7 separate regions of the Homo sapiens genome follow, and all the other regions are linked to region 1. Evidence: promoter capture Hi-C in 16 types of primary human blood cells and fetal thymus (Javierre and others, 2016). All regions are on one chromosome and are shown on one strand. The core of a region is centred on a gene start or on the middle of the fragment in contact, and the rest is flanking DNA. Distances in the headings are between cores, read along the strand shown. Region 1 holds the start of SIX2 (SIX homeobox 2). Region 2 overlaps SRBD1 (S1 RNA binding domain 1). Region 3 overlaps SRBD1 (S1 RNA binding domain 1). Region 4 overlaps SRBD1 (S1 RNA binding domain 1). Region 5 overlaps SRBD1 (S1 RNA binding domain 1). Region 6 overlaps SRBD1 (S1 RNA binding domain 1). Region 7 has its middle 98 kb from the start of LINC01121.

Evidence for each region. The method cuts DNA at HindIII sites, captures the fragments that hold promoters and counts their contacts. A CHiCAGO score of 5 or more calls a contact.
Region 2: a contact is called between a fragment that was not itself captured here and the fragment with the promoter of SIX2 in region 1, in 7 of 17 cell types (endothelial precursors, M0 macrophages, erythroblasts and 4 more). The highest score is 11.9, in endothelial precursors.
Region 3: a contact is called between a fragment that was not itself captured here and the fragment with the promoter of SIX2 in region 1, in 9 of 17 cell types (endothelial precursors, fetal thymus, M1 macrophages and 6 more). The highest score is 17.8, in endothelial precursors.
Region 4: a contact is called between a fragment that was not itself captured here and the fragment with the promoter of SIX2 in region 1, in 5 of 17 cell types (endothelial precursors, megakaryocytes, erythroblasts and 2 more). The highest score is 9.2, in endothelial precursors.
Region 5: a contact is called between a fragment that was not itself captured here and the fragment with the promoter of SIX2 in region 1, in 1 of 17 cell types (M0 macrophages). The highest score is 5.6, in M0 macrophages.
Region 6: a contact is called between a fragment that was not itself captured here and the fragment with the promoter of SIX2 in region 1, in 1 of 17 cell types (megakaryocytes). The highest score is 5.7, in megakaryocytes.
Region 7: a contact is called between a fragment that was not itself captured here and the fragment with the promoter of SIX2 in region 1, in 1 of 17 cell types (endothelial precursors). The highest score is 5.2, in endothelial precursors.

What each region holds. Positions count from the first base shown.
Region 1 is chr2:45,007,650-45,011,545 of GRCh38, reverse strand. It overlaps SIX2 (SIX homeobox 2), which reads left to right and starts at 2,094. Exons shown (of 2, transcript NM_016932.5): 1 at 2,094-2,995. The coding sequence starts at 2,436. RefSeq lists enhancers at 1,022-1,621, 2,626-3,399. The HindIII fragment of the contact is 4,145 bases long and covers 227-3,896 here.
Region 2 is chr2:45,508,937-45,512,832 of GRCh38, reverse strand. All of the region lies in intron 14 of SRBD1 (S1 RNA binding domain 1), which reads left to right. Among named protein-coding and RNA genes, the nearest start is that of SRBD1, 100 kb to the left of the region's middle. RefSeq lists a silencer at 1,569-1,863. The HindIII fragment of the contact is 1,612 bases long and covers 1,041-2,652 here.
Region 3 is chr2:45,488,662-45,492,557 of GRCh38, reverse strand. All of the region lies in intron 14 of SRBD1 (S1 RNA binding domain 1), which reads left to right. Among named protein-coding and RNA genes, the nearest start is that of SRBD1, 120 kb to the left of the region's middle. The HindIII fragment of the contact is 1,398 bases long and covers 999-2,396 here.
Region 4 is chr2:45,453,483-45,457,378 of GRCh38, reverse strand. The region is part of intron 16 of SRBD1 (S1 RNA binding domain 1); the gene reads left to right. Among named protein-coding and RNA genes, the nearest start is that of SRBD1, 160 kb to the left of the region's middle. The HindIII fragment of the contact is 1,220 bases long and covers 1,242-2,461 here.
Region 5 is chr2:45,414,802-45,418,697 of GRCh38, reverse strand. SRBD1 (S1 RNA binding domain 1) reads left to right here. Exons shown (of 21, transcript NM_018079.5): 18 at 157-333. Among named protein-coding and RNA genes, the nearest start is that of LINC01121, 160 kb to the right of the region's middle. The HindIII fragment of the contact is 1,224 bases long and covers 1,034-2,257 here.
Region 6 is chr2:45,388,519-45,392,414 of GRCh38, reverse strand. It overlaps SRBD1 (S1 RNA binding domain 1), which reads left to right. Exons shown (of 21, transcript NM_018079.5): 21 at 2,816-3,735. The coding sequence ends at 3,105. Among named protein-coding and RNA genes, the nearest start is that of LINC01121, 140 kb to the right of the region's middle. The HindIII fragment of the contact is 814 bases long and covers 1,620-2,433 here.
Region 7 is chr2:45,351,137-45,355,032 of GRCh38, reverse strand. No RefSeq gene overlaps it. Among named protein-coding and RNA genes, the nearest start is that of LINC01121, 98 kb to the right of the region's middle. The HindIII fragment of the contact is 2,049 bases long and covers 979-3,027 here.

The DNA of each region.
Region 1 (3,896 bases), core at 845-3,344:
GAGTACGTTGCACTTTTGTTGGAGGTCAGCAAATTGGGCTTTGAACCTCATCACAGTCTGCGGTAAATTCTTCTCCATGTCTCCCAGGGTCCTTAGATCCAACTCTGGGGCAGCCCCTGTGCAGCAGTGCATAGGACTCTGGATAGGGTGGCCTGGACACAGCAGACCTCCTCCCAGCCCACAGATACAGACTCTAAAGATGCCACCTGGATTTCTGCAGAAAGCTTCCCCTTTCTGCACCCGCACTGGCTTGGGACCTACTTTGTCAGCCCTGTGGCCTCATTCAACATGCCAGGGTAGGCCCCTGGAAGCTAAAGTCTTAAGAGGAGTCCCAGGGTTCCATTCTCTCATGCCTACAACACTCCCAAAGGACTTCCGGAATGCTGCAGCACAGGGAAAATTTTTGAAATCTTGCAGAGAAGGAAATAAACACAAAGGCATAAATATATGCCTTACCATAGACACCAAGCAAAACCAAAAGTTGAACCCAGGGCTCTAGACTCCCATTCCGCGCTCCTAGCACAAACTCCATAGAAAGCATAAAAGGGTGGGAAAGAAGGAACTGGCCTAGACTCGGGTTCCATAGCCCTAGACTGGCTGAGGGCAGAGCCCAGGATTTGTGCTGGCTTGGGTCAGGCACTGAGTATGGCCCTAGGAGCTCCTGGCCTGCAGCAGCTGAGGGGGGAAGAGGAGGAAACTGAAGGAAGTGGAAAGGACATGTCCGGGAAGGAGCTAAGCCCCGGGCTTTTCAAAACGTAGAGCAAGAACACACCCATCCTCAGTTCTCCCACCTTTGTGCGAGCCCTTCTCCCACAGGACCAGCACCACATGTTTCCATTGGCACCCTGACAAAGAAGCAAAAAACAGGACCCCCTTTTAAAGCACCTCATCCCGGAGCTCAGCGAGCCGGTTCCCAGGCTGGAGTGGCCAGGAGCCGAGCCGATCCCCAGCGGCGAAGCGGGAGGACTGGGAATCTTGCCTCCGTTCTCCTCCCCGACCACCCACCGGGGAAGCCCCACCACCGTCCTAGAGTCCCTGCCGTCGCCCCTCTCCCCCGCCCCGGTGGGCAGACTGCGGGTCTGCGCCGTCCGGGGTTCTGCGTCGCAGCTGCCGGCCGGAGTCAGCTTCCATAGAGGCCACACGGAACTGCCTGGCGCTCCTCGGGCTGTGGGACCCGTGGGGTTAAGTCTGAGTCCCCGCCCGGCGAGGAGCAGAGAGCGCAGAGTTGGGGCGGTACAGGCCGCCAGGCAGCCGGCGGGGCTAGGAGAGGGAGGAAAGGCGGGATCCTCCGGGAAGTCGATTCTCCGGCGTCCGCCTGCGGCCACTGCCAAATCTTCCCCATTTCTTTCGTCTACTCCCTCCCCTTTTCCCTCGAGGACCGCTGAGTCCAGAGTTTCTAGGATGGGGGTGGGGCGCTGTCAGCAGAAAAAGCCAAGTCTTTGGGCGGCACCCGAGCACGTCCAAACTCTCCCATCCCACTGGCCTGCGCCGGGGTAGAATGTGCCCGGTGAACAGAGAGCCTGGGAGGGACGCGGTGACCTGGGGAGAAGGGGAACCCTGTAGGGTCTGGGCGAGGCTGCAGAGCCCTCTCCTAGCCAAAGCTGCCCAAACTTTCTTCCCCTGGAGTCTCCTTCCACCCCTCTCCCTCCCCTTCCTCCTGGACACCCCCTTAAACGGTCTCCGCCTTCCCTTCTCTCCTCTTCTCTCCCCACCTCGATCCACCCCTTTTCGTCTTCGCCCGCTCCCCCCGCTCTCCTGTCCTCCTCCTCCCTCCCTCTTTGGGCATCCGCCCCGTCAATCTCCGCCGCCGCCGGCCCCAACCCGGCCCCTCTCCGCCTCCCAGGCTCTCAGAGCGCCCCAGGCTCCAGTAGAGCCGCCCTCAGTTCTGCGCGGAGCGGGGCGATCTGTCAGCGGAGCCGGCCGGGGGGAGCCGCCCGGCCCGCCGAGGCTCGGGTTACCAGTGACTGACAGCGTCTCCATGGCGAATAATTTGACTCCGACTATTGTCTGGCGCTGGCAGGCCCCGGGTCAGATAACCGGACCAATCAGGGCGCGGGCCGCCGCGCCTCATGCCCGCTTAGAATAATATTATTAAGAAAGCTGAGAGCCAGCTAGACGGGAGGGAGAACGAGTGAGAAGCGAGCGAGGGAACGGCGGGCGGGCGCGGAGCATGCGGAGCGGCGCCCCGGGCGGCCCCCGGGCTTGGGCGAGGGCTTGGGCCAGGCGCGCGGGCCGTTGGGGTTCGGAGCTTCGTGGGACCCGCGGCCGGCGCGGGGACGTACGGCAGTGACTCGGGGCTCACCGGGGGCCAGTGCCGGGCCAGGGGGCCAGCCCCGCCCGCGTCTCGGCCCGGACGGCCCGGCGAGGAAGCTCCCATGCGGGACCGCGCGGCCCGGTGAGGGCGCGCGCGGGCGGGCGGGGACGCAGCCGGCACCATGTCCATGCTGCCCACCTTCGGCTTCACGCAGGAGCAAGTGGCGTGCGTGTGCGAGGTGCTGCAGCAGGGCGGCAACATCGAGCGGCTGGGCCGCTTCCTGTGGTCGCTGCCCGCCTGCGAGCACCTTCACAAGAATGAAAGCGTGCTCAAGGCCAAGGCCGTGGTGGCCTTCCACCGCGGCAACTTCCGCGAGCTCTACAAGATCCTGGAGAGCCACCAGTTCTCGCCGCACAACCACGCCAAGCTGCAGCAGCTGTGGCTCAAGGCACACTACATCGAGGCGGAGAAGCTGCGCGGCCGACCCCTGGGCGCCGTGGGCAAATACCGCGTGCGCCGCAAATTCCCGCTGCCGCGCTCCATCTGGGACGGCGAGGAGACCAGCTACTGCTTCAAGGAAAAGAGTCGCAGCGTGCTGCGCGAGTGGTACGCGCACAACCCCTACCCTTCACCCCGCGAGAAGCGTGAGCTGGCGGAGGCCACGGGCCTCACCACCACACAGGTCAGCAACTGGTTCAAGAACCGGCGGCAGCGCGACCGGGCGGCCGAGGCCAAGGAAAGGTACGAGTAAGTAGACCTTCTTCGGCGCCAGCTCCCCGGGGCCCAAGGGAGGGGTTCGCAGGGCTTCTGCCGGTCCCCCGGAGAGGCCTAAACTGGGCCCCCAGGCCCGGCCACAGCCCAGCGGCAGCCCGGCCTGACTTGGACGATGCTTAGGCCTTTCTATGCCGGAGACCCGGCGAGCAGGGATTTGTCTAAAGCGGGCAGAGCAATTCAGGAAGTTGTCAACTAACTACTCGGTCGCTAGAGGAAAAGGGTGGAGAAGCAGAGAGCTTCGGGGCAGCGCAGAACTGTGGGCCTGTATCCCCTGTGAGGCAGGCACAGTAGGTCTGGTCATCCTCAGGACAGAGGGGTTTGAGCCCAGATGAAAGGGGATTTGCAGATTTCTTGCTGGTGGTGCTTCCCGGCATTTCCCCCCAGCCTTAGCTCCAGGCCAAAGTGTGATGGGGTCGGGACTGGGGCTGGAACTTCCCTAGAATGACCTGGATGGGGAAAAGCCAGGCCATGAATTTTCGTTGTCACATGGAGTTGAGAGCGGGTCCTTTATCTCCTTAGAAAGGATCCAGAGGTGAAAGGGAGGAAGTGTCAGTTCTGGGAGAGAAGAGACGCATGCCCTGTTTTCTGCCTTGCTAGAGATAGCCGCCCTTCCCTGGCACTCCAGGCCCTTGATGCCTCTCTCCTTAGGCCCTACCTCTGATGGGTAGGTCGGAATGTCTGCGGTGAGCTGAGAGGCACAGAGGGGCTGGGAGTTGGATGTCCTCAGGTAAACCAGGACTTCCTGAACCAGCCTAAAGGTTGATCATTAGGCCCTTGCCACTGCCTGCCCTATAACCCCTCAGGACCTCAAACCTGGAGAGAAACTTATTATGGGAACAGAATCCAGCCCGGGGTAAGAGCAAAACAG
Region 2 (3,896 bases), core at 597-3,096, 500 kb before region 1:
CATAAAGAAAAATATTCACTTACACAAATTCCAAACATACAATCATAAGTTAAAAGTTCATAAAATAAGGGATAATCAGCACTTTACCAGTGAATCTTTGGCAATGTAAAAATTTAACTTTGTAGTTCCTTTAGCTGGTGAGCTCTTTGTTGCATTTAAAATGGATTTTGACTTATAAAAATTCAGTTTAAGATTTTCATGAATCCTCCTACACGTAAAGCACAATGATTGTCTTTCTGTTCAAAGCCCTAGTTGGTTGTCACATGGAAATAGTAGAGTTCGATATTTGCCCTTGGTGTAAATGCCTGAATTTAGTGTGCCAGAAAATTGTTATTTTTTGGAATTTAAAAGTATCTCTTCAACAGATAAGTACAATTTAGTATGTTGATAGGATTATCCTTCATAGATTCAGTTTTTCTTTTCATTGGGTAAGTGATGCGTATTCTCAGTAAACTAGGCTGAAAGTTTCTAAGTCCAGAATTGTGGTTCCAATAGGACTCTGAAGTTACAGATGTAGTATTCAAGTCATGCAAATGTATGTAAACTAAGGAAGTATGGTCTATAGGTAAAACACTTGGAGAAATGATAGTCAATTACATGAAGATTTTCTTTCCTTTTCTTTAAGCAGCCTTCAGGTTTAGAAGCTCAAGTTAGAGAAATAGTGTTTTAACCAAGAAAATCCCTTTGGCAAGACTCATATCTTGACAAAAGCATGTTGGTCTGCATACCACTTTGCATAAAAGATGTGTATTGCATTAACTATGGAGAAGAGAAGATTCCAGTGTATTTCAGCCTCTTTGCAGGATAAAGCAAAGCAAATCACGTAGCCATGCTGTGTGTCTCAAAGGGCTCTTGTGTGGGTATTTCAACTAGAAAGGAGATTAGCATTGGAAGTCTGTGATCATGTCATACATTTGTAATTGAAGGTGGCTGTTGAAAATAATTCTTTACATAACTGGATTCTAGCAGTCTTGATGAGGTAAGTAGAATCAATAGGAAATGATCTGTTTGTCACTGCTTAGCCACAATGCCAAAAAGCTTGGTATCTGGGAATGGAGACTTTAAAAAGCGTCAGCACTGGGAAGTATTTGATAATTCAAGTCTAAGAGGCTTCTTATGAAAAGTGCAGAAGGAATATATGCATGGGAATATATACCATTGAATTTTTGCCGATAACATTGTTTCTCGCCACAGTTAAAATTGAAACTTTGATCACTCTAGTAGCCACAGGTCATTTGATGATTTTTGCCAAACCGTAAACTTAGGCAACTTAAGTACCTGCCTCATGTAAACGGTCTTATATGTGAGCATGTTTTTCCTGTTATTTGTATTTCTATTCCTTGACATAAAGTTTTAGAACTTTTTGGGGGAAGTTCATGAACACTCATAGCTCTTTCTGGTAGATGAACATGACTCTTACTTCTGTGGATAAATTATAAATGTACTATAAAAATTCATCTGGAGTGGCAAGTGAAAAAGATACAGTATGATTTGCTGCCAAGAACATCTTATTACATCTGCATATTTATGCTGCTAATGAACGGATACTGCTAACAAGTCAGTTTCCGAAGATACGCAGCTTTGGCGAAACAACAAAGTGAACAGGAAATGTTTTTCTTAGAGGATTTTATTTGCTCATCCAAAGCAATAGAAAAACGTTAAATGATTGGTGGTAGATTTTATTTTCCTGGAGCACCTTGTACAGCCTGCAATTCAGTCGGTTATTGTGCTAAGGGATGGGTGCACTGACCTTGTCAAAAGAGGGAGCAAGGATTTCGTTTGACTTTGGTTTGTTGGTTCGCAATACTCATGGATATCTGGATCTCTAACCTTGGCTTTTTATAACTATAATCCTAGGCAGTCATTCACTATGAAAACACTTGTGCTTCTCTTTTTTTCTTTGTATTTGTTCATTTGAAAAGCCTTTCAAAAAGGAGTTGCAGCCTGCATGTGATTATAGCTATCAGTAGCACTTAACCTAACTGCTGAGATGAAACTTTTCTTTTTGGAACCTGCTAATTTTACATATCAATAGAAAAAAAATTTCTTGTACTGTTAAAAGGCCCGACTTTACTAATTGGTAGCTACTCTTTGGATTGAGCTAGAATCCTTAGGGACAGAATTTGATAGAATAATTTTTGACATTTTAATTTGACAAGAAACAATTCAGGGAAACGATTTTAGTCTTGGGCCTGAAGTGGAGTCTTCTCTTGCTGTTTGTGATACTTAGTGTGGGGAATGCCTTTGAAACAGCACTTTATAAACCCTGTGATCCATTTAATGTGATAGTTCAAGCTGCTTGGCTGTTTTTTTCATAGGAGCCTCACCTAAAATAGTCTAACACAGTGGAAAGATTTTTCTGTATTTTAGAGGGTAATGCAGTAAATTCTAATCTTTGTGAGAAAAACATAGCTTTCCAGAAGGACAATAAATTTAGGTGTAAAATGTGTGAATTGTATGCTCCTTTATCCTTTAATTGTATTATAGTCTACATCTTTCTAACTCAAAAAGTACTCTTTGTTTTAAAAATATCCCTTCCCACACTTGAAAATGGTAGAATAAGACTAATTTTAGTTACAGGTTCTTTGTGTGTTTGTGTGTATATCTCTATATAACAGAAAACTTACATTTTTAAATAATGAAGTTAAAGCTTTAAACAAGTAGAGTATATACACACATAAACATGCGTGCTAATTTGTTTCTGAAAAATTATCTTAGAAATCTGTGTTTCTCCAAGTATTTGGGGGGATATTTAAATAGCCAAACTAGAAATGAAATAGGTGTTTGAAAAAATATCTAGCTGGGCATGGTGGCTCACATCTGTAATCCCAACATTTTGGGAGGCCAAGGTGAGAGGATCACTTGAGCTCAGGAGTTTGAGACCAGCCTGGGCAACGTAGTGAGACCTTGTCTCTACTGAATATTTAAAAATTAGATGGACATGGTGGCACACGCCTGTAATCCCAGCTACTCAGGAGGCTGAGATGGGAGGATCACTTGAGCCCAAGAATACAAGGCTATAGTGAGCTGAGACTGCGCCACTGCACTCCAGCCTGGGCAGCAGAGTGAGACCCTGTCTTAAAAGAGAAAAAGGAAAAAGAAAAATATCTGGAGACAAACCTGGTTTCTAAGCCTGGGGAGTAGATTGGAAGAAAGGGAAAATATGACCTTTAGTTTCTTCTTTGCGTGTGTGTGTGTGTGTGTGTGTGTGTGTGTGTGTGTGTGTGTGTGTGTTTTGAGACGGAGTCTTGCTGTGTCCTCCAGGCTGGAGTGCAGTGGTGCAATCTCTGCTCACTGCCAGCTCCGCCTCCTGGGTTCACGCCATTCTCCTGCCTCAGCCTCCCGTGTAGCTGGGACTGCAGGCGCCCACCACCGCGCCCGGCTAATTTTTTGTATTTTTAGTAGAGATGGGGTTTCACTGTGTTAGCCAGGATGGTCTCGATCTCCTGACCTCATGATCCGCCCGCCTCGGCCTCTCAAAGTGCTGGGATTACAGGCGTGAGCCACCATGCCCTGCCTTGTGTGTGTGTTTCTAATACGTAAAATTTTGTTTTTTACTAGGTAAGGTTAGAAACTGATACTCTCAAATTTGCTCATAATAGTGACTTATTCTAGATGAGGAAAATGCATTGATTTTATTAACAATATATCCCTCGGAGATTAGGGTAGGTAGATGATTTGGAGAAGTAGGTTGCTTGATATCAATTAGTTATGTTGCTTCAGAACAAGCCATTATTAGTTTGTATCGTAAGTACTTTAGTGAAAGAAAAAATTTTAATGGATTTGGTGGTCATGTCAATTTGTGTACTAGCATGTATTCTCTTTCTCTGCACCTCCCTGCCCCCACCTCCCAACTCACCGTGCCCTGCAAACATTTTTCTGTCTGCTTTTTTTCT
Region 3 (3,896 bases), core at 448-2,947, 480 kb before region 1:
CTGAGGCAGGAGAATGGTGTGAACCCGGGAGGTGGAGCTTGCAGTGAGCGGAGATGGCGCCACTGCACTCCAGCCTGGGCGACAGAACGAGACTCTGTCTCAAAAACAACAACAACAACAGAAAAAACCTAGTTTTTCTTTCTCATGAAAATAATCTCACCTTCCCATCTCAATTTGGCAAAATATAATAATGATAATAACATTCCTTATGGTCAGAATGAATAGTCACTGTAAGAAAAGTTTTTTGAAAACCTAGTTTTAAACGGTTCATCAACATACAATCTGTCATGGTAGAAAAGACTTGTAAACTGTAGAGATATCAATTCTGTTATTTAAACGTATATCTTTTATACAGAAAACAAATTATATTGATTAATGATTAGCTTTTTGTAAGTAACACCATTGAATTTTACCTAAGATAAAACTTAGCATTTTTGTACTGGGCGTAGTGGCTCACGCCTGTGATCCCAGCCCTTTGGGAGGCTGAGGCAGGTGGATCACCCGAGGTTGGGAGTTCTGATCAGCCTGACCAACACGGCAAAACCCCGTCTCTATTAAAAATACAAAAATTAGCTGGGCATGATGGTGGGCACCTATAATCCTAGCTACTCGGGAGGCTGAGGCAGGAGAATCTCTTGAACCTGGGAGGCGGAGGTAATAGTGAGCCGAGATTGCGCCATTGCATTCCAGCCTGGGCGACAGAGTGAGACTCTGTCTCAAAAAAATAAATTAATTAAATAAAGCAGCATTTTTAACTCAATAGGGTTTTTGTTAAAAAATTTGAAAGTGAATGCGTTGATATTGTAGGTACTTTACTTGCTTTTTACTTTATAAGTGTGTGGTTTGTTTCCTTAAAATAAAAATCCTAAAAATAGTGCTTAAATAAAATATCTTAAATTATCAATTTAATTATAGAGAATTGGCATATTAACTTTTAGATCTGGTAAAATGTAAATTCAATGCTAGCTTCTGAAGTGTACTTTCTTATATCTAAAGCTTGAAATACTAATGTATTGGTTTAGGTGAAGGTCTAAACTATAGCAATTTGAAGGGCCTTCTGAGTACTGTAATAATCTATAAATAATTAGTTGAATTACAACTGTGGCAGTTAAAATCCCCCCAGATGATAAATTCTGCTCAGTCATCTGCTTCATGGCAAAATACATAAAATAATCAAATTGCTAGGATTTTGAGGCTAATTTGTTTGTACTGCTGAGAAATTTGTTTTGTGAAATGTAATATTAAATCGTTAGATATATGAATTTTATATAAAGTTCATTTTTGCTTTCTTCAAAATATATTAGAGATAATTGGAATAATTTCCCAATAGTTTATTGGAAAATTTCCCATCAAACAGAAAGTGTTTTCGTAAATTTAGTGTACTTTTGGCAAGTGTCTATTCTTGAACTCTTAAATAGGAATGAAAAAGGGAGGGTATTAAAACTTTTGTTCTTAGCAATGTCTGGAAAAAAATCATCACTCCCAGTTTGATTTGTTTCATTAATTCTAGTCACATATACTTCTTCAGTCCTTACATGTTTTATATTGAAGTAATCAATGTTGAGGTTTTTCTGTGCATTTAGGTTATTTAAGATTTCTGATCTATGCTGAGCACTGAACTGTGTATTAGACACATACTCTTCAGTAAGTAAAGCATATGAAATTTACTACATTTTGTATTGATTTAATATTAATGTTAATCCACAATCTTTGGGTGCAATGTGTCACATCTGTTTTGTATTCCTCTGTTTAAAAGAAATGGCAGTATGGTATTTGGAGGAATATTTATTATCTGAGTGTTTTTCTTTGCAATAGTTTCCCTCAGTCTATTGAAAATTATAACCTCCAAAAGCCCAGCAAATTCTCAGGTACCCAGTTGCTAACAACCACAGTTAATTGGAATTTTTATTTACCATTTAAGTTCCTTTTATTTAAATAGTTGTAACTTTGGAGGCTTCTGGAAATGATAGAAAATAAATCTGTGGTGAGATTTACAAAAATATTCTTTTCTCTTAATAATAGGTCTAGCCTGTACTTCATGGATACTCTGTCTTTTTAGAAAAGACTTTGTTAGATTGAATGTTGATTTGTATTTAAAAATGAATTTTCCATAGGTGGTGGCTAAATATTCTTATCCTGTAGTAGTGTTTCTTAACCTTTTTGGGGGTCACGAATTTAAGTAATCAATGAATGCTAGAACCAGCTTTCCTTGGGGGAAAATTTATATAAACACAAACATTTTACATGCAGTTCTGATTAATCCTGCCTCTTCCTGCCCAATAGTCCAAGGGCCCCTGGTTAGGAAATGCCACTATAATGGAACTGAAAAAATCACTTCTTAATTTAGTTTTAACATCACATTATTATGTAACACTACATTTTCTTCACTACAAGCTTTATTTAACATTACATTTTCTCCTTGATCATTATATTATTAGAAGATAAGCGTAATGTAAATGTTATTTTGGAGAAAATGCAGTATTACCTTTTAATTTTGAAGCTGGTCTCTGAAGTTATGGAACGTATTTGACTCCTGTATGTCCTCAAGTTCTGCTTTAGATAAGTAAACAATTCACTTTACCTTTTGATCAAAGAAAAAGGCAAAGGAAGAGAGATACGAGTTCTTCTAGATCTTTTGTTTGAGAAAGTAGCTCTTCCTTAGAAAAATATGTTGCGTTGGTTGTTTGGCACAAAAATATGAGTTCTCATTTTATTGAGAGTTTGAGAAACTATTTAAGGGTTACCTGGTTGTGCTGGTTAAGGGCTCAGACTTGGAAATCAAGCAGGTTAGGGTCCAAATCTAACTCAGTTCCTTTCCAGCTATATGATCTTGGGCATACTACTTATCCCCAAAATGGAACCTACTCCATTAAATGAGATAATGTCTGTAAAGTGTTTTTTTGCTTTGTGTATAATATGCACTCAGCTGTTATTGTATCATGATGATGGTGATGATGAAAAACAGGATAAGCAGCCTTGCTTTTCAGTTGTAGTGTTTATTTTTTTCTATTTAAATTTAAGAGAGTAGATCTTGGTTGCAGAAAGAGAAGTTGTCACATTCCCCAGAATAATCTTCTCAAGTTGTGGTGGCTTACATTTGTCATAAAAATTTATTCAAGAATTCTCCAAAGATGGGGATAGCAAACTAACTTTTCCACATTTTACTTCTCAATGTTCAGTTGTTACAGTGGGGCAGTACGTTACATGTCATCCATTAAATTTGCCTCATGCAATTGAAGTAAATACTGAGGAGCAGAGAAAGGGAGAGGTTGCTAAGAGTGAATTAAAAAGTGAGCCCTAACATGTTTCTGGTTTTGAATATTGACACCTACATGGTCACATGGTATAGAGCCACATGTATTGTGTATACTTAGAGTAGATGATGTTTCTTTGCCTGTCATGTCATAAAGGAGAACTCTAATGTAAAAATTTTTCATAAGCTGTACAAAATGGCAATCCCCATACAAATGTCAGCTGTAAGACAGTATTCTCATTGTGGGTTGTATGGTATTTGGAGCCAAAGAAGAAAGGAAGAGAATGAAAGAGAATGATTTGTGTGACTATTTGATTAAATAAATGATGAAAGGAATTAACACCTGCCTGAGTGGAAGACTTTAAGTTCACTGAAAGGATGATGATTTTCAGACCCTCCTGAAAAGAAGTCGGATGACATCCTGTCTGATCCCTTTTTTTTTTTCATGTTGTGGTTGTTAATTATAACCAGGTAATAACAATAACAGTGCTTATGATGGTGGTTTTTTTGTATGTCTGCATGTGCACATATCCACACATATGTCCATATGCTTTTCAAGGTGCCTTAGAATGATTCATTCAGGTAAGAATCATAAATGTCAGTCAATAATGAATTATAAATACAGGAGAGGCTATGTGCATTC
Region 4 (3,896 bases), core at 602-3,101, 450 kb before region 1:
TCAGTTGAATCACAGATGATCCATTTTCAAAGCACTTTAGTAGTTGGGTGTCAAGGGAAAAAAGTTGTAATTTTAAGAACTTCATCCGCAAATCATGTAATGGTATTTTTAATTTTAGCTTCCCAAATCTGTGTGGACAAAAATTATTCAGTTATAAATAAAAGATGTGTAAATCCTTATTCCAGTGGCCTTCTTTGGGGTGACAGGGAGGAGTATTAGGCGATGTTACAGGATATTGTTACAGTTTTATATTTTGTTTCTCTGTGTTAGACTTTTCTATTTGATAATACTTTTTCAAAAATGATGCTATAAAAACCCATTATTATAGAGCCATTAAAAATACAGGTCTATTATCCAGTGATTAATATCCATGACCTTTATTTTTGGATCGGCTTCATAAATATATACATTTTCTATGTCAGCCATTGTCTGGAATTTCATTTTTGTTCTGCTTTCCATTACATACCATGAATTAAATGAAATTAATTTAATCGCTACTACAAACAGAAATTAAACGTGCCCTAATCCAGAGTTACGTTGTTTGCTTTTACAACTGTAAGTCATAAGTAATTAATTTTCCTTGGAAAATTAATTCACTTAGCATTCCCAGTAGCATCATATGTTGACACAGGGTTATAGATAGTTTAATATTTTTCTTCAGCATGCTGGCCTCAACTTTAGAAGACCTTAAATGAAAACAAATTAAAATTTACTCAACTGTATGTAATTTGGGGCTATTTAAAATAAGTGTTGTTGTTATTGATAGCATCCAGGTGATGACTCGAAAATTATACTCAAACTTTACAAAATGCCCATTATGTATTAGCAAGTCTGAAACAATATATTTTTTAACATTGGTTATATGACAGTAGCCATTAATATTTTCTGTCCCTCAATTCTGAATAAACATTTGACATGAGAACCATCTAACAGCAGTAGCATGGAAAGTTTTTTTTACCATCACTTAACTGTCAAGAAAACAAAAGGGTTAACTTACTTGCTGGACATTTGACCACCTGGGATAGCAGGCCATCCTGTCTGATTCTTACAGAGCTTATTTTCAGTCTCTCACCTCGGTCAGCAGAAAAATTTCTATCAAGGTCATCTTAAAACATAGAATATATTGATTGCCGTTTTCTAATTGTTTCATTCTTTCCTGTTTAATACTTTTTTTCCCCTTACTTTCCAGAAAGGCCAGTGTGGAAAATGAAATAAGCAGAAGTCTTTCAGTTAAACAAGCTTTCCCCCACTGCTTTTTATATTCTGGGGACTCAGAAAATATGAGCAAACCAAATTTAGCTTTTCTTTTGCATTTGCCAGGAGGTTATTTAGTAAGGTGATTTTTTTTTTCTGGTTCACAGAACTCTATAAAACATATAGTGTTTATTACTTTATGTATATTTATTTAAGTCACTAAGGTGAAACTGTAGTGATGGTGGCAATGTTACAGTTTTAACAAGTGGGGCTTATTTTATAAATGTGTCTTTGTGGCAATAGCTTTCAAAAATGCACAGGGTTAGCAGTGACATGCTCTTTTGGAAAGAAAATTTGCTGTTTAATTCCAGGGTAAAAGTACTACTAGAACACAAAATCACCACTGTTATTTTTTTATTTTTTATTTTTTGGTTACTATTTATTGTTAAAGTCAACTTTAAAAAAATCTGTACTCGCAGGATTTAACTAACTACATACATTGCAAAGTTGTGTCAGGGAGAAAATGTTTGCTTGTTATCCCTATCAGAAGGGGGGTGACAGGGAAGTCCCCTTCCCTATGCTTCAGAGGGTTTCCCTCTGAGTGGCCTTCAGAGTTAGGATAATGGCTTTCCTCTTTATCATCATCAGACAAAATGAAAAGATTACACATGTCAAGTTACGCACATTTATGTTTTTGCTCTGACCTAAATATAGATTGTTGTACAGTCAGGTTTAAGGGAAAGCAGTCTTTCAAAAATAATTTAGGCAGCCCAGGTGATGATTATTCTAAAAACTCTATTCCTAAATCTACTATCACATACCTGCAATACGATTACATATAAATACGTATGATAATGCTGCATACATTCTTACACAGTTTTTAAAAAATGCTTCTGCCTTCTTTCTGAAATGAACTGGTTTACTTTATTCTGGTTTTGAAGTGGAAAAGTAAATTCACCCTTATAGAAATTTACTAATATTAATCTGCATTTAATTTCAGAATATATTCTCTTAAAAATTAAATTTAAATGAAAAGAGTTTGTCATGTCCTTCATTAACTTTTGTGTCAAAATGAATATCTTAGAAAAACATTTTATAGCAAACTAAGAAGTGTAGAGGAATTGTGTGTGTGGTGGGTGTACACAAGGAGATTTTAAGAGTGTGGAGAAAAGAGATGCTAAATTTGAGCTACATAATATTTACCCAAAACTGGCAAAGGAAAACTTTGTTAAAATATATAAAAATTATGGATTCAAGAAACAAAGCTTGGAGAAGTAAAATTTTTTACTTCTTACTTTCTGTGATTATTCTGTTGATTCAAATTAGAATAGAAACAAGATTTTGTGATAGAAATATGAATGTGCTTTTTAAAAATTTATAATGTTAAGATATAACAATGTTCATAATTTGCTGAATGATTGTGACACATGAAAAACCGTGCTGTTTGTGAGAAGTAGACAAACAAATGTTCGTGCATTGTAAGAACTCTGAGGAACTTAGAGCAGACTATCGCTTGAGTTTGGTCAATAAGACTTTATTTTTTACCTGCAAGCAGAGTGTAAGTAATCATAATTATTCCTAAATTGCTCCCTAAAGTGTGGTAAAAGTGGGGTTTGCAAACTGCTGATATTTGTTGGACAATTAGATTGATGTTTTATAACATGTTACTATTCAATGGAGTCCTTCACAGTGCCGTTGGGTGGAAAAGTAAATTTGTACCTAAAGAAATGTACAACTATTAATTTGTATTATATTCCACACTGTTCTTTCAAAACACTAAATTTAAATAAGTTTACACTTCTACTCACAAAGGGAATAATTAAATTAAGGTGATATATAGAAAGATAAAATGGCAATTTACCACCACCTGAGATTGACAAAACTCTCCCAGGTCTTTCAAAGTGAATCATGCTCCCAGTCATTATCTCACAGTACCACGATCTTACACATTGACAATGGGGTAAATTGGATTACATTTTTGCTTTTACTAGAAATTCAAATAAAATCTTAGGCAAGATAGGGAATACCACATTGTAATATCCTGCTTTTATGCTTCTGTTAGGGCTGTACATTAGTCTTTGGCTAATAGATCCTGCTAGATAACGCTTTTTCCTTTTGTAGCACCATTCATAGTTTGAGGCTGTCTTCAATCTGACCTGTAAGAACTCTGCTTCGAAAGACTGTGTATATAAGAATGTTGGAATAATTTAATACTCACATTTTGATAGGTTTAAAATGAACTGGAGATTTATGTTAATTGCAGTGGACGAATTGCCACATTTGTCCTACTAAAGTTGCTTATCAGAAGAGGAAAATGAGCAGAAGAATCTTTAAAAAGAATGTTTTGTCTCCAAATTATTTTATATTTGTATGTTAACCCAGAACTTTTTCTCTAGTCTCTCTCTGTATATATTAGAGGAGTAATTTCTGAGTTTTGTTTTTCATCAGATTTGCAGTGAAGATTAAAAACAAAAACAGAAAGAACCTCTTTGCAATAAACATCACTACCACATTTAAGTTTGTAATTTTTATAAGAAAGGAACACTAGTTAGAAGCTATTTTTTTTTGAGTTTTAATATTTACCAAATTTATAGGAACTCTCAACATGTTTTACATTTTTTCTCTCCATGTATGTAAACAGAATGAAGTTAAATTTAGTGATTTCTTCCCTGGAGTGATTAAAAGTAATGTAATTTGTTTGT
Region 5 (3,896 bases), core at 396-2,895, 410 kb before region 1:
TTTTTTTTTGTTTTTTTTTTTAAACTCCCTTTTGGATTAACTTAACTTAGCCGTATGAGGATATGTCATTGCAGTCGTTTTTATGATCCAAATGTTTTATATCATTGTCTTTTCAGATGAGATCTTTTTTTCAGTTTGCTTATTTTTTTTTTCTAGGCATATTGCAGGACTCAATGCCAACAGGGCCAAAAATATTATTGAATGGCGAGAGAAAAATGGACCCTTTATCAACCGAGAACAGCTGAAGAAAGTGAAAGGGCTGGGCCCAAAATCCTTCCAACAGTGTGCTGGCTTCATCAGAATCAACCAGGATTATATCCGAACGTTTTGCAGGTGAGTATAAGTATACACTTTGATTCTATTGTCAACCTCCTCTCTTGTTACTGTTACCTATCCTACCACTGATTAGTGTAAAATTTTCTAAGTGTCCATTGTTCATGCCTTCATTCAGTTAAGTGTTGAGTGACTGTCCTTTGGTAGGCATTGGGAATACAACAGTGAGCAAGTCAGCAAATTCCGGATTCTCATGGAGTTATATTTTAACATGTGACACAGACAATAAGCAAACTAGTAAAATTAGTACTTTCAGATGGCAAGAAGTGCTATAAAAATTAAAGCAGGGATATGTGACACTGTCTTAGGAGAGTAATACAACTACTTTAGATTCGTTATTTTTTGAAAACTTATTTGAGCAGAGTTTTGAATGAAATGCCATCCAAGGATCAGAAAGAGAGCATTCCAGGCAAAGTGAACACTAAGTGTGCACAGTCCTAAGGCAGGACCAACTTTGGTGTATTCAGGAAATGAGGCAAAGGCCCACACAATTAGGGCATAGCAAATGGGAAGGACTGGTACAAGATGAGGTGACAATGGTGACTTCAAAATGACCACTTTATACTGACATAGCTGTTCCCTAAGCATAGATATGTTTCCCCACTCCCTCCTCACTGAAAATGGACCAAAGCATTGATTATCAGTTGTGTGGATCAAGAGCTAAATTTCTTTATTTTCTAATCCTGAAAGCACAAAAGCTTGTTAGATAAACTTCTTAGCATGATATAATCATGAAAGAAGAACATTTACGTATCTGCTACTTTGGGACTACGTGGTTAATTCATATGGACTTTATAATTTTGACAAAATTATAATAGAGGTCATATGGAAGATAACCTTTCTTCTGGAAAAGACTGATTAAGCCTCACTAGAATACATTATAAAGCTGTGGAAATTAAACAGTTTGCTTTTGATGTAGGAATAGCACAGAATAAGGTCTGAAATCCACCAAAACATGGTTAGAATTTAGTTTGTGGTAAAGGTGACATTTCAAATGGTAGGGTAAAATTGATTAATTATCTAACAAATGATATTATGACAACTGCCAGTAATTCAATATGTGTGAAGGAAGCTGTAGTCCCACTTCTCACTCCTATACCCAGATAAATTACAGATTTATCATAGACTTAAATGTCAAAAAAAGTAAAAAACTGTAAAAGCACCAGAAGAAAACATGGGGAAATCTTGCAGAGCATTAGAGTGATGGAAATTCTTTCTAAATAGATCATGAAACCTAGAAGTCACAATTGAAAAAAATTGAAGATAAAATGATTCTGTTTTTGTTAGTTTATATGTTCTTTGAACACTTGGTTAGAAAACTCACAGCATAGGCCAGGAGCCGTCGTTCACCTGAGGCCAGGAGTTTGTGACCAGCCTGGCTAACATGGTGAAACCCCGTCTCTACTAAAAATACAAAAATTAGCTGAGCATGGTGGTGCTCACCTGTAATCCCAGCTACCCAGGAGGCTGAGACAGGAGAATTGCCTGAACCCAGGAGGTGGAGGTTGCAGTGAGCCGAGATCATGCCGCTGCACTCCAGCCTGGGCGACAGAACAAGATCCTATCTGTCTCAAAAACAAGCAAACCAAAAAAACACCAAAAAACTCACAGTATAAAAAAAGAACAAAAAGTAAAAGATGCCTCTCAAGTCTCACTTGAAAAAGTTTCTTATATGTTGCTTCCAGAAAGTAAATTTACAGTTATGTCACCTTGTATGTATATGTTTATTATTTTAAAAATGTATACACAAGGGATCAGGCTCTGCAACTATTTGAAACTTGCTTTATTTGTTTCAGTCTTCTGGATCTCTTTCCAAATTATTACATATAGATTTCTAATTTTTTATTCTTTATATTGTCTGCATAAAATTTAATTGTATGGATGGGCTGTAATTTAGTCTAATCAGTGTCTTATTGATGAAGCTTATTTTAAAGCCTTGTACTTTTCCAGCTGATAATTAGGTACTTGAAGATTTGTGACTGTTACATCTCATGAACTATAGGTTTATTCAGAATGGAATATTGCTACCACATTTAATGTTTTTTGCTTTGAAATTTATTTGCTAGCAATGTTACTGTATATGCCTGTTTTTTTTAATTTTTATACTTTCTATGACATTTAATTTTTGATATGGCTCTTAGAAACACATAGCTAGATTTTGTGGTTTTACTCAATCTGTTATTAATACATTCATATTTGTTGTATTTATTTATATGTTTGGGCTTATTCTTCCTACGTATTTTGCCCCTCCATCATGCTTTCTGATTCTTCTTTTCCTTTTACGCTATTTATTAGATTTATCAGTTAATAAGTTTTCTGTTTCTCTCCTTGTTTTCCCATCTCATCTTTATCTCTCCTTAGTGATTTCAAAGTTGTACATCTTCTATTCTTATGATCATCCTTAAATTGGTTTTGGACTGACCTCTGGAGTTAATAGGTGTCTGTCCTCTTAGAGAAGACTAGAAACAGGATCCTTCCCAATCTTTCTCTCTTCAACTCTCTCTGCCTCCCATGATAAGATGATCTGGGATTTTAGTTTCAGACTCCTCTCCTCTCCTCTCCTCTCCTCTCCTCTCCTCTCCTCTCCTCTCCTCTCCTCTCCTCTCCTCTCCTCTCGTCTCCTCTCGTCTCCTCTCCTCTCCTCTCCTCTCCTCTCCTCTCCTCTCCTCTCCTCTCCCGTCCCCTCCCCTCCCCTCCCCTCCCCTCCCCTCCCCTCCCCTCCTTTTCTCTCACTCTCTCTATATATTTTATACATATATAAAAATATTTTATGTATATTTTTGTTTTTTAACCTATATATACGTATACAGACTATATGCATGTGTATATACGTGTGTATATACATATACACATACACACTATATATACACACTCCTCCATATATATAAAATATATTCTTATAGATGTATATTTTTGTTTTTTAAATGTGTGTATATACACATATACACACTATATGTGTGTATATACATACTATATACACACTATATGTGTGTATATACATACTATATACACACTATATGTGTGTATATACATACTATATACACACTATATGTGTGTATATACATACTATATACACACTATATGTGTGTATATACATACTATATACACACTATATGTGTGTATATACATACTATATACACACTATATGTGTGTATATACATACTATATACACACTATATGTGTGTATATACATACTATATACACACTATATGTGTGTATATACATACTATATACACACTATATGTGTGTATATACATACTATATACACACTATATGTGTGTATATACATACTATATACACACTATATGTGTGTATATACATACTATATACACACTATATGTGTGTATATACATACTATATACACACTATATGTGTGTATATACATACTATATACACACTATATGTGTGTGTATGTACATACTATATAACACTGTGTGTGTACATACTATATACACACTATATGTGTGTGTACATACTATATACACACTATATTGTGTGTACATACTATATACACACTATATGTGTGTGTACATACTATATACACACTATATGTGTGTGTACAT
Region 6 (3,896 bases), core at 777-3,276, 380 kb before region 1:
CAACCATAGTTGTTGAGAGCAGTGACCCAGTGAAAAAGAATTACAGTATCAAATGACCTACTTCCCAAGGAAGTTTGAATAGGAACCCCTGAGATTTAAATGAATCCGCTCACTGGTCTTATAACCAGTTTTGATGATTCCGTGTTTAGGGCTTGGCTCTTTTTATTCTGGTTTAGGCTGCATTGAGATGGTTAGACATACTTCTTTGAAAAGGTTTAAAGGAGTTTTGAAATACATCCAGCAAGTTCATTGTACTATTCCTTCTTCTGTAGGGTTGTTTTGTTTTTTTTTAAGTTAAAGAAAAATAAAATGACACCCAGTAAGAACTATGCCAAAAATGTGGGAGTAGAAGCCTCCTAGTAGTCCTCCACACAATGTGGATGTTTCAGCAGACAAATCCATCTCCATTTGGAGGCCCAGTATCCTTTTATGGGAATTTCTGGGCTGGTTTTTAGCAGGAGTACTAGGTGGAGCAGTGGTTCTCAAAAATACTGGATTTGGAGGTGGTATGGCTGCACCCTTTGCATTAGAGGGTTGGCAAAAAATGCTGTAACTGCAGGTATCCTGTACTGGATTTTTCACATCCATCTTCATTTTTCTGTCATAGTGTCGATTGTTCCATTATCCCAGTTGCATTGTAGACTCAGAGCAAAGATCAACACTCAAATTATATGGTCCAATTAAACTACCAAGTTGTTGAGCAAAAAGACAGATGCATCTGGGCTCTGGACTGAGCTTTCCACTTACTGCAGTGTTCTATCAGTGTGGCAAGTGAAGTTTTAAATAGGTCTCTTTAAAAAAACTTTGGAACTGACCTTTGCTCTAATGTAAGTCACAATTTTCAAAATGTCTGAGAACTTTCATCTTACTACTAAACACATACCCAAGGTGAGGAAGGCTTACAAACTATACTTTCGAGGGGGCAGATAGTATTTTGGGCATTTCCACGTGATGATATTTTATGTTACATCTCTTTTCTCCATTTTCTCAAAAGTATTTCCTTTCTTAATGCCTCATTCTTTACTCATAATAATTCTGTCTTTTGTTTTGTCAATGGTGTAATTAATTTCATGTGTATTAACACTATGGTGACTAGTTAATTTCCCTAACTGGGTTTATTAGAAGCAGTCCAGACACAGGGGCTGAAAATGCTTGGCTATGAAAGTGTTAAAGTTTGCATGGTACACAGAGGATTTTCTGATTTCTCAGTGTCCCCAACTGTCTTCAGGAATATGTTAAGTAGTTCCTGACTCTGATTTTCCTTGCAAGATTAAACTAAACAGCTGATCAGGAACCCTTAGGGAATCTGCAGCAGCTGGACCTCCCCAAGAAAAGAGAGAGAGAGAAAGAATTTCCAAGCATAAAAACAATGCCTATGGGGTCTCGGAGACCCGTCCTACCTCTGCCCCTGATCAGTGACTTAGTTCCACTTTGCTTTGACACAGCCTTAGCCTGGTGTAATATTACATTACAGTAGGTTTCTTGCTTTTGGAATTCACTGCTTTAGCATCAGGTAAAATTCCACAGAATCAATTCCAATTTTAGCGTACTCATTTTTATGTGTACAGTGAGATTTGGAGTTTAAAGAAGGTTTTTATTTTGTTTTATAAGAAAAAGCTTAATTTTTAAAACGTCTTGGTATCAGTATGGTTGGACTGGGGGAAGGGAAGAAAGGGGTGACCAGTTGTTAATACAAATGTAAAGGATAGCTTTAACAAGTCATCAGGATAAAGCCAACAGCTGTGGAGGAAAAGGAAATGGAATGGGTGGAGGGGAAAATGAGGCCTTAGTAAAAGGAGATCCAAGCATAGAATGTGTTCTTTGTTATTAGAGTCAACACTCAGTAATCCTAGGAAAGGGGGCCTTCAGGAGGAGCATGGATAAATGGAGTCCACAGATAATCCACAGCCCCGTTTAAACTGTTAGTTCTAACTCTAACTGTCTCCCTCATAAAAACCTTTGTTTTTAACTAGAACCATAATGATTCCTTGGCATGCTTTATGCCTACCTTTTGGACAATAATGAACAAAGAAATGTATGCTGGGGTGAGCAAGAAAAAAGGGCTATAAAGAACTTGGAAACAGAAATCTGTATCTTCATCATTGTTTCTCTAGCACCCAGCAGAGTGCCTGGCCAGGAGATAATAGAGTTAACAAATGTTTGATGAATTTAATTGAAAGAAGAGAAAGAATATTAGATACTACCTGGTCTGGGATTCTGAGCCATAGATAATCAAGAATCCATAAATGTTGATTGGATAAATATATATGAAATAGGTGGGAATTGATTTTCTGAGTTCCAAATTTGTGGGAAGAAGTGAGGAAGAAAGAACATTTGAATTTCATCCACATTTGGCCAAAAGTTGATGTACTTTCTACCATCTTTAAACAATTTAATAATCCAGGCACTGGGGGAAAAACCAAAAAAAAAGCTTCCAGTCTCTTGTTTCCAAAGGTCTTACTTTCTCAGTGTTTGTGGTTTAGCTTTGTATATTTGTTAAGCAAATATATATTCTCATCACCTCTTCACAAAGAGGAAAATAAGACTGTCTTCTCGATCCTTATGTATAATGCTAGTGTGTAGCATTGTAGAAGGAAGTAAATTTTCTTGAATTGTTTCTACTGCATGAATGCTGTCTCCAACTGATATGCATGTTCTCTGAAGGCAAGCGTTGGTCTGCAGCTCCTTTTATAATCCCCCCTTAATCTTTAATATTGGTCTGGGCACATAGTATGTAGTAAGTACTTATTCACAAAGTTATGTTGTATCTAGGAAGTACAATGCCTTATTTACACTTACTTTTTTTCTCTTACAGATTTTGATAAACCTGATTTCAAGAGAAGCATAGTATGCCTGGAAGATCTGCAGATTGGGACAGTTCTTACAGGCAAAGTTGAGAATGCCACTCTCTTTGGAATTTTTGTGGATATAGGAGTGGGGAAATCTGGGCTGATTCCCATACGAAATGTAACAGAAGCAAAACTTTCAAAAACAAAGAAGAGAAGAAGCCTTGGACTGGGCCCCGGAGAAAGAGTGGAAGTCCAAGTACTCAACATTGACATCCCCCGATCTAGGATTACTCTGGACCTCATTCGGGTGTTATGAGTATCCCACGAAGGCCAGACGCTGATTTTATTTTCTCATTTCCACAGATTGACAAGGATAAGTCAGTTGTTTGTAAACTCTAGGTAGCAGATGAGAAATAATTCACTTAATATCAGAAATATTTTCCAAACACTTTCCTTTATTTTTTCTTCTGAATAAATAGAAAACCAACAGTTTGATTTCCTTTTCCCTTAAAGGAAACAACTAATACACATTCTTATATGGCTTTATGTAGTAATAGTTTTCTGACTAAAATTTTGTTTTTTATTTTTTGTAATTTATCTTTAACTCCTTTTGCATTTTGTATAACAGATTGCTTAACTTCTACTTGCCAACATCTGCCTTGCTGGACTTGTATGGGATTGTCTTCTTGATTTGAATTGTACCGTCTTTGTTGACACAGTAGGGCTGGGCAGTGTTTAATCCTTCCATTTTATAGATTTTTTTTTAATCAGGCCTTTTGGACTTCATTCATAATTTTGCAATAATCTCTTTTCCCTTGTCATGCAAGCCAAAAATATACCAGTAAAACAGATTCTGACGTGTTTGTAGTTATCAAATGAATGGCTCGAAACACTTCTCAAAAGGATATACGTATTGACCCCAACAATAAATGTTTGTGGCTAGTGACTTGTTTTTTGCTATGTTGATTCAGTGAATGACCTAGAAGTCAGTCTTGATGAAAAAAGATATGGTTTATGCAACCTTTGGAGAAGAGGGAAGCCTTTGAAAATTTGAAGAATGGTTTTGTTTGATTTAGCATAGAAGAGTGTGTCCTTTCTTAAATCAGA
Region 7 (3,896 bases), core at 754-3,253, 340 kb before region 1:
TGGACCTGTGACCTAAGCTGGTGGCTGCCCACTCACCCAAAGCAAAGCAAACAGCCAAGGCGGCTGCCTTGATAACACTCTTATGACCAGTCATGAAAAGAATTAGTAATAAAAAAAATCACCTTACTTTGACAGAACGCTCTAGACTAGAGCTGAAAATGTGTTTCCACCTGCCTTCTATCTCTTAAGCTTCACAACAACTCTGATTTAAATATTCATGTTCTCTCCCAACAGGAGATGTACAATGTCAGACTGGCCCCAGGCCTGCTAATTGGCAAGGCCACAGTAAGTGTGTACCCCGGGGCACTGAGCTGTCCACCTGGGGTGATTTTATTTATTTATTTATTTTTGAGATGGACTCTCACTCTATCGCCCAGGCTGGAGTGCAGTGGCGCAATCTTGGCTCACTGCAACCTTCGCCTCCTGGGTTCAAGTGATTCTCCTGCCTCAGCCTCCCAAGTAGCTGGGACTACAGGCGCCCACCACCACGCTGGGTTAATTTTTTGTGTTTTTAGTAGAGATGGGGTTTTACCGTGTTAGCCAGGACGGTCCCGATCTCCTGACCTCGTGATCCACCTGCCTTGGCCTCCCAAAGTGTTGGGATTACAGGCGTGAGCCACCGCACCTGGCCAACCAGGGGTGATTTTAGTGCTCCAAGCACCAGCACCTGCTCTCGTTAGTCACACAGGAGGAAGACACACTGGAGGAAGGTGTGACCAACTTCAAGGCTGAAAACCAAATGGAAAGTAGAAGGAAGGAATGGATGATTCCTAAGGTTTCTGTGGTGAACATGGATGTGAGCCATTCAGTGTTCCAGGGGCTGGCTTTCTTACCACGCAGGCCTGGATTGCAGCTAGCTCTGTCCTTTAGACCTCTGCCCCTGTGATGAGGAAAGGAAATTGCCTTTCAATGACTAATGTGAAAGGAAAATAAAATCTCAGGATCCCAAACTCACTATATCAAAGGGAAAGTTAAGCTTGGGAACTGAGTCATGCAAAAAGCTACCTTCCTTCTGTTCCCAAACAGCTGTAGTTTTATATGTTTACTTTATCTCATGTAGAATGTAGATCTACTGAGCAAGATAGGAATGCATGCTTGACTTCCCCACCACTCCGTTCTTCTCACATGTAAAATGTAGCTTTACTGAGTGCCAATCAGAGCCTCACAAGAATGTGACCACTTGCCTCATTGCCTGCCCTCTCGCCTTTTTTTCCTTTCCTCCTCCACTTCCTTCTCCCTCTCCTCTTTAAATATCAAAGTCCTCAAAACCCTCTTTGGAAAAAGCGCAGGACACAGATCCTACTGGGACCCATGTGTCTCTTTCCTGGGTGCATCCTCAACCTTGGCCAAATCAGCCTCTAAATCAATTGACATCTGCCTCAGTCACTTTTTGGTTGACACTAATAAACTCATGTTTAGGTACCTTGGCTCCAGATCATTTTATTTCCTACCTCACAAGGACAAAATCCCAATTTAAAACAAATGCTCAGCTTACCAAACAGAAAAGGAAAACAGTAGAAGATAAGAAAACAAAACAAAAAAGCATGCTCTGGGCCATCTTTGTTCTATTATCATATTTTTGGTCTTCTAAATGAAGCATCTTTACATGCAAATCCATTTTTGTGTATTTTGACTGATTGCTGGCAAGGTAGAGAGAAATAAATATTTCTGGAAATGGGCATGGCATAAACATATCATTAGCAGGGCTGCAGCTTTGTGTGTGTGTGTGTGTGTGTGTGTGTGTGTGTGTGTGTGTGTGTGTGCATGTGGTTTGAAAAGATGTTTATGGTGAGTTCAGTCAACAGACCCTCCTATCTTCTCTGTGATCATGTCTTTAAGGACCTGGGAGCACCAGGCCTGGGGAGGATAGATGGGAAATGTTCTTGGAGCTTAAGGAACATTCCAGATCTTAGGCATTGATTAAGCTAGAAACCCACCATCTGCACACTTGCTCATAGCCCTTCTGATCATATTTCTTAATTTTTAAATGTCTGAAGCGTGTTTAGGTGTCCCCCATGACGCCGATGTTGCTTTAAAAATTCCAGCTGTTGCAGAGCTCTTCTCAAGGATGTTACTAGGCAACTTAGCGACTGCAAGGGGGAAGGTGTTTCTGACCTCCAATTCCAGTAGAGCCCAGGCCTGTAAAATACATGTAAACAGGCAGTTGTGACTTTTTCTTTTCCTTTTTAAAAATCAGACTTAGTCACATTGAGGTCCTGCTCCAAGGCAGGAGGATTGAGTGTAAAGATGTTAGCAGCTGAGTTGAGATGGGAGTGTTTTCACGTCTGGGATATATTGCTTTGTCTAACAAGGTGCCCCAGCAGGCTTCCAATTGTGGTCTCCCCAGACCCTCCCAGCTGCACAGGCTGATTGACAGACTGTGGGCAGATGCGGTGCCAGACTCCAATAAAGAGAGGGCCTTGGGAAAATATAAGGCAATTATTGATGGGCAGCAATCCACTAATCAGACAATTTCAAAATTAATCCCATATTCCCTTACTGTATTAGCTTTCTTTCTTGTTTGTATTTATATAGCAAATTCATGACTTCAGTGAAAATTCTTCCCTCCAGCCCAATTATATCTCTCTGAGGACATTAAATTAAAAAACAAGAGATATTGAAAGTGGCTTGCAATTAGTTTCTTTAGTTAAAGGTGCTGCATGCACTTAGCAACTGTGGCGCTCATCACAGGATGCATAATAATAAAAGTAAACACACGTATTTTTTCCTGGGCTTGACAGGGTGAGGGGTTGATAAGAATAATATGCCTGGCATTACTCTGGACCAGTGATAATGGGTTAAATAATTGTGATTTGATTTGTTAACTGATTAGATTTGCATAAAATCCTACTCCAAACTCCTCAGGATGCTCTGCCTTCCTTCTTGCTGTGGTCCATCCTCCCGCCTTCCCTTGCCTCATTAAGAATGTACATTTTTTTTTACAATAAAGTCATTCAGAGAAAACGCGATCAGTTTCTATCACAGGTTTCCCATGCAGGATAACCTTCCAAGTAGTGGTATGAAGCTTTTAAATATACATAAATACATTTCAAATATTTTGCCAGTTACTTATTATGGAAGTGAATCTCTTTATTACCATTTCCATCCTCATTTCATCTCCCTTCCCTGTCCCCTGGTTTTTGTAAGTTTTTTGTTCTGTTTTGTTTTATTGACCTGAAACAGCTGGAATTCTCTTTTTGTTCACTGCAACAATTGCTTCTGCAGAATGCTTCCCGATTGCATAAATTTGCCACTTAAACTGAGGAACGTCAAGCATCACTACAATTTGGAGGAATTATAAATGGCCAGAAGCTCATTTTGGCCTGAAGACTGTGGTTGTTGAGTTCTGCCTGATCGTCCAGCTTTGGCAGTCTCTCCCCCCATAACCCCTACAAGTTCAGTATGTTGCCATCTGCCCCATATAGAAGTATATCCCAAGAAAAAAAGGACAAGCCCATTATCTTTGCATCCATTGAATCTGACGAGTTCTGAAGGAGGTCAGCTTCTATTTCAATGAAGTACTGGTGAGTTGAAGAAGAGAGCATTGGGATTTTAGGCACTTTCCCCAACATCTCATAGTTTAAATTTCTGGTATACACTTCTATGCAGATGAGTCCTGTCCTCCGGCAGGAGGAATTGATGCAACTCTGGTCCCGCATCAGGACTCAATAACTTCAGGTACCATTTGATTCTCTTCCCATTCTGACCCTGGCCCCAGTTCTACAGGCAAACCTTGTTGCTGGTTTGGAAATAGTCAAGCCATTTAAGCCATTACTCTTCCCTCCTATGCCTGGGATGACATTTGCAATCAATCATTAAAGTCTTTTTCTGGAATCAGTCTTAGAATCTTGTCTTAGATTCCTAGAGTCTTAGGTGAATCAAGTGTTGGGGGCATC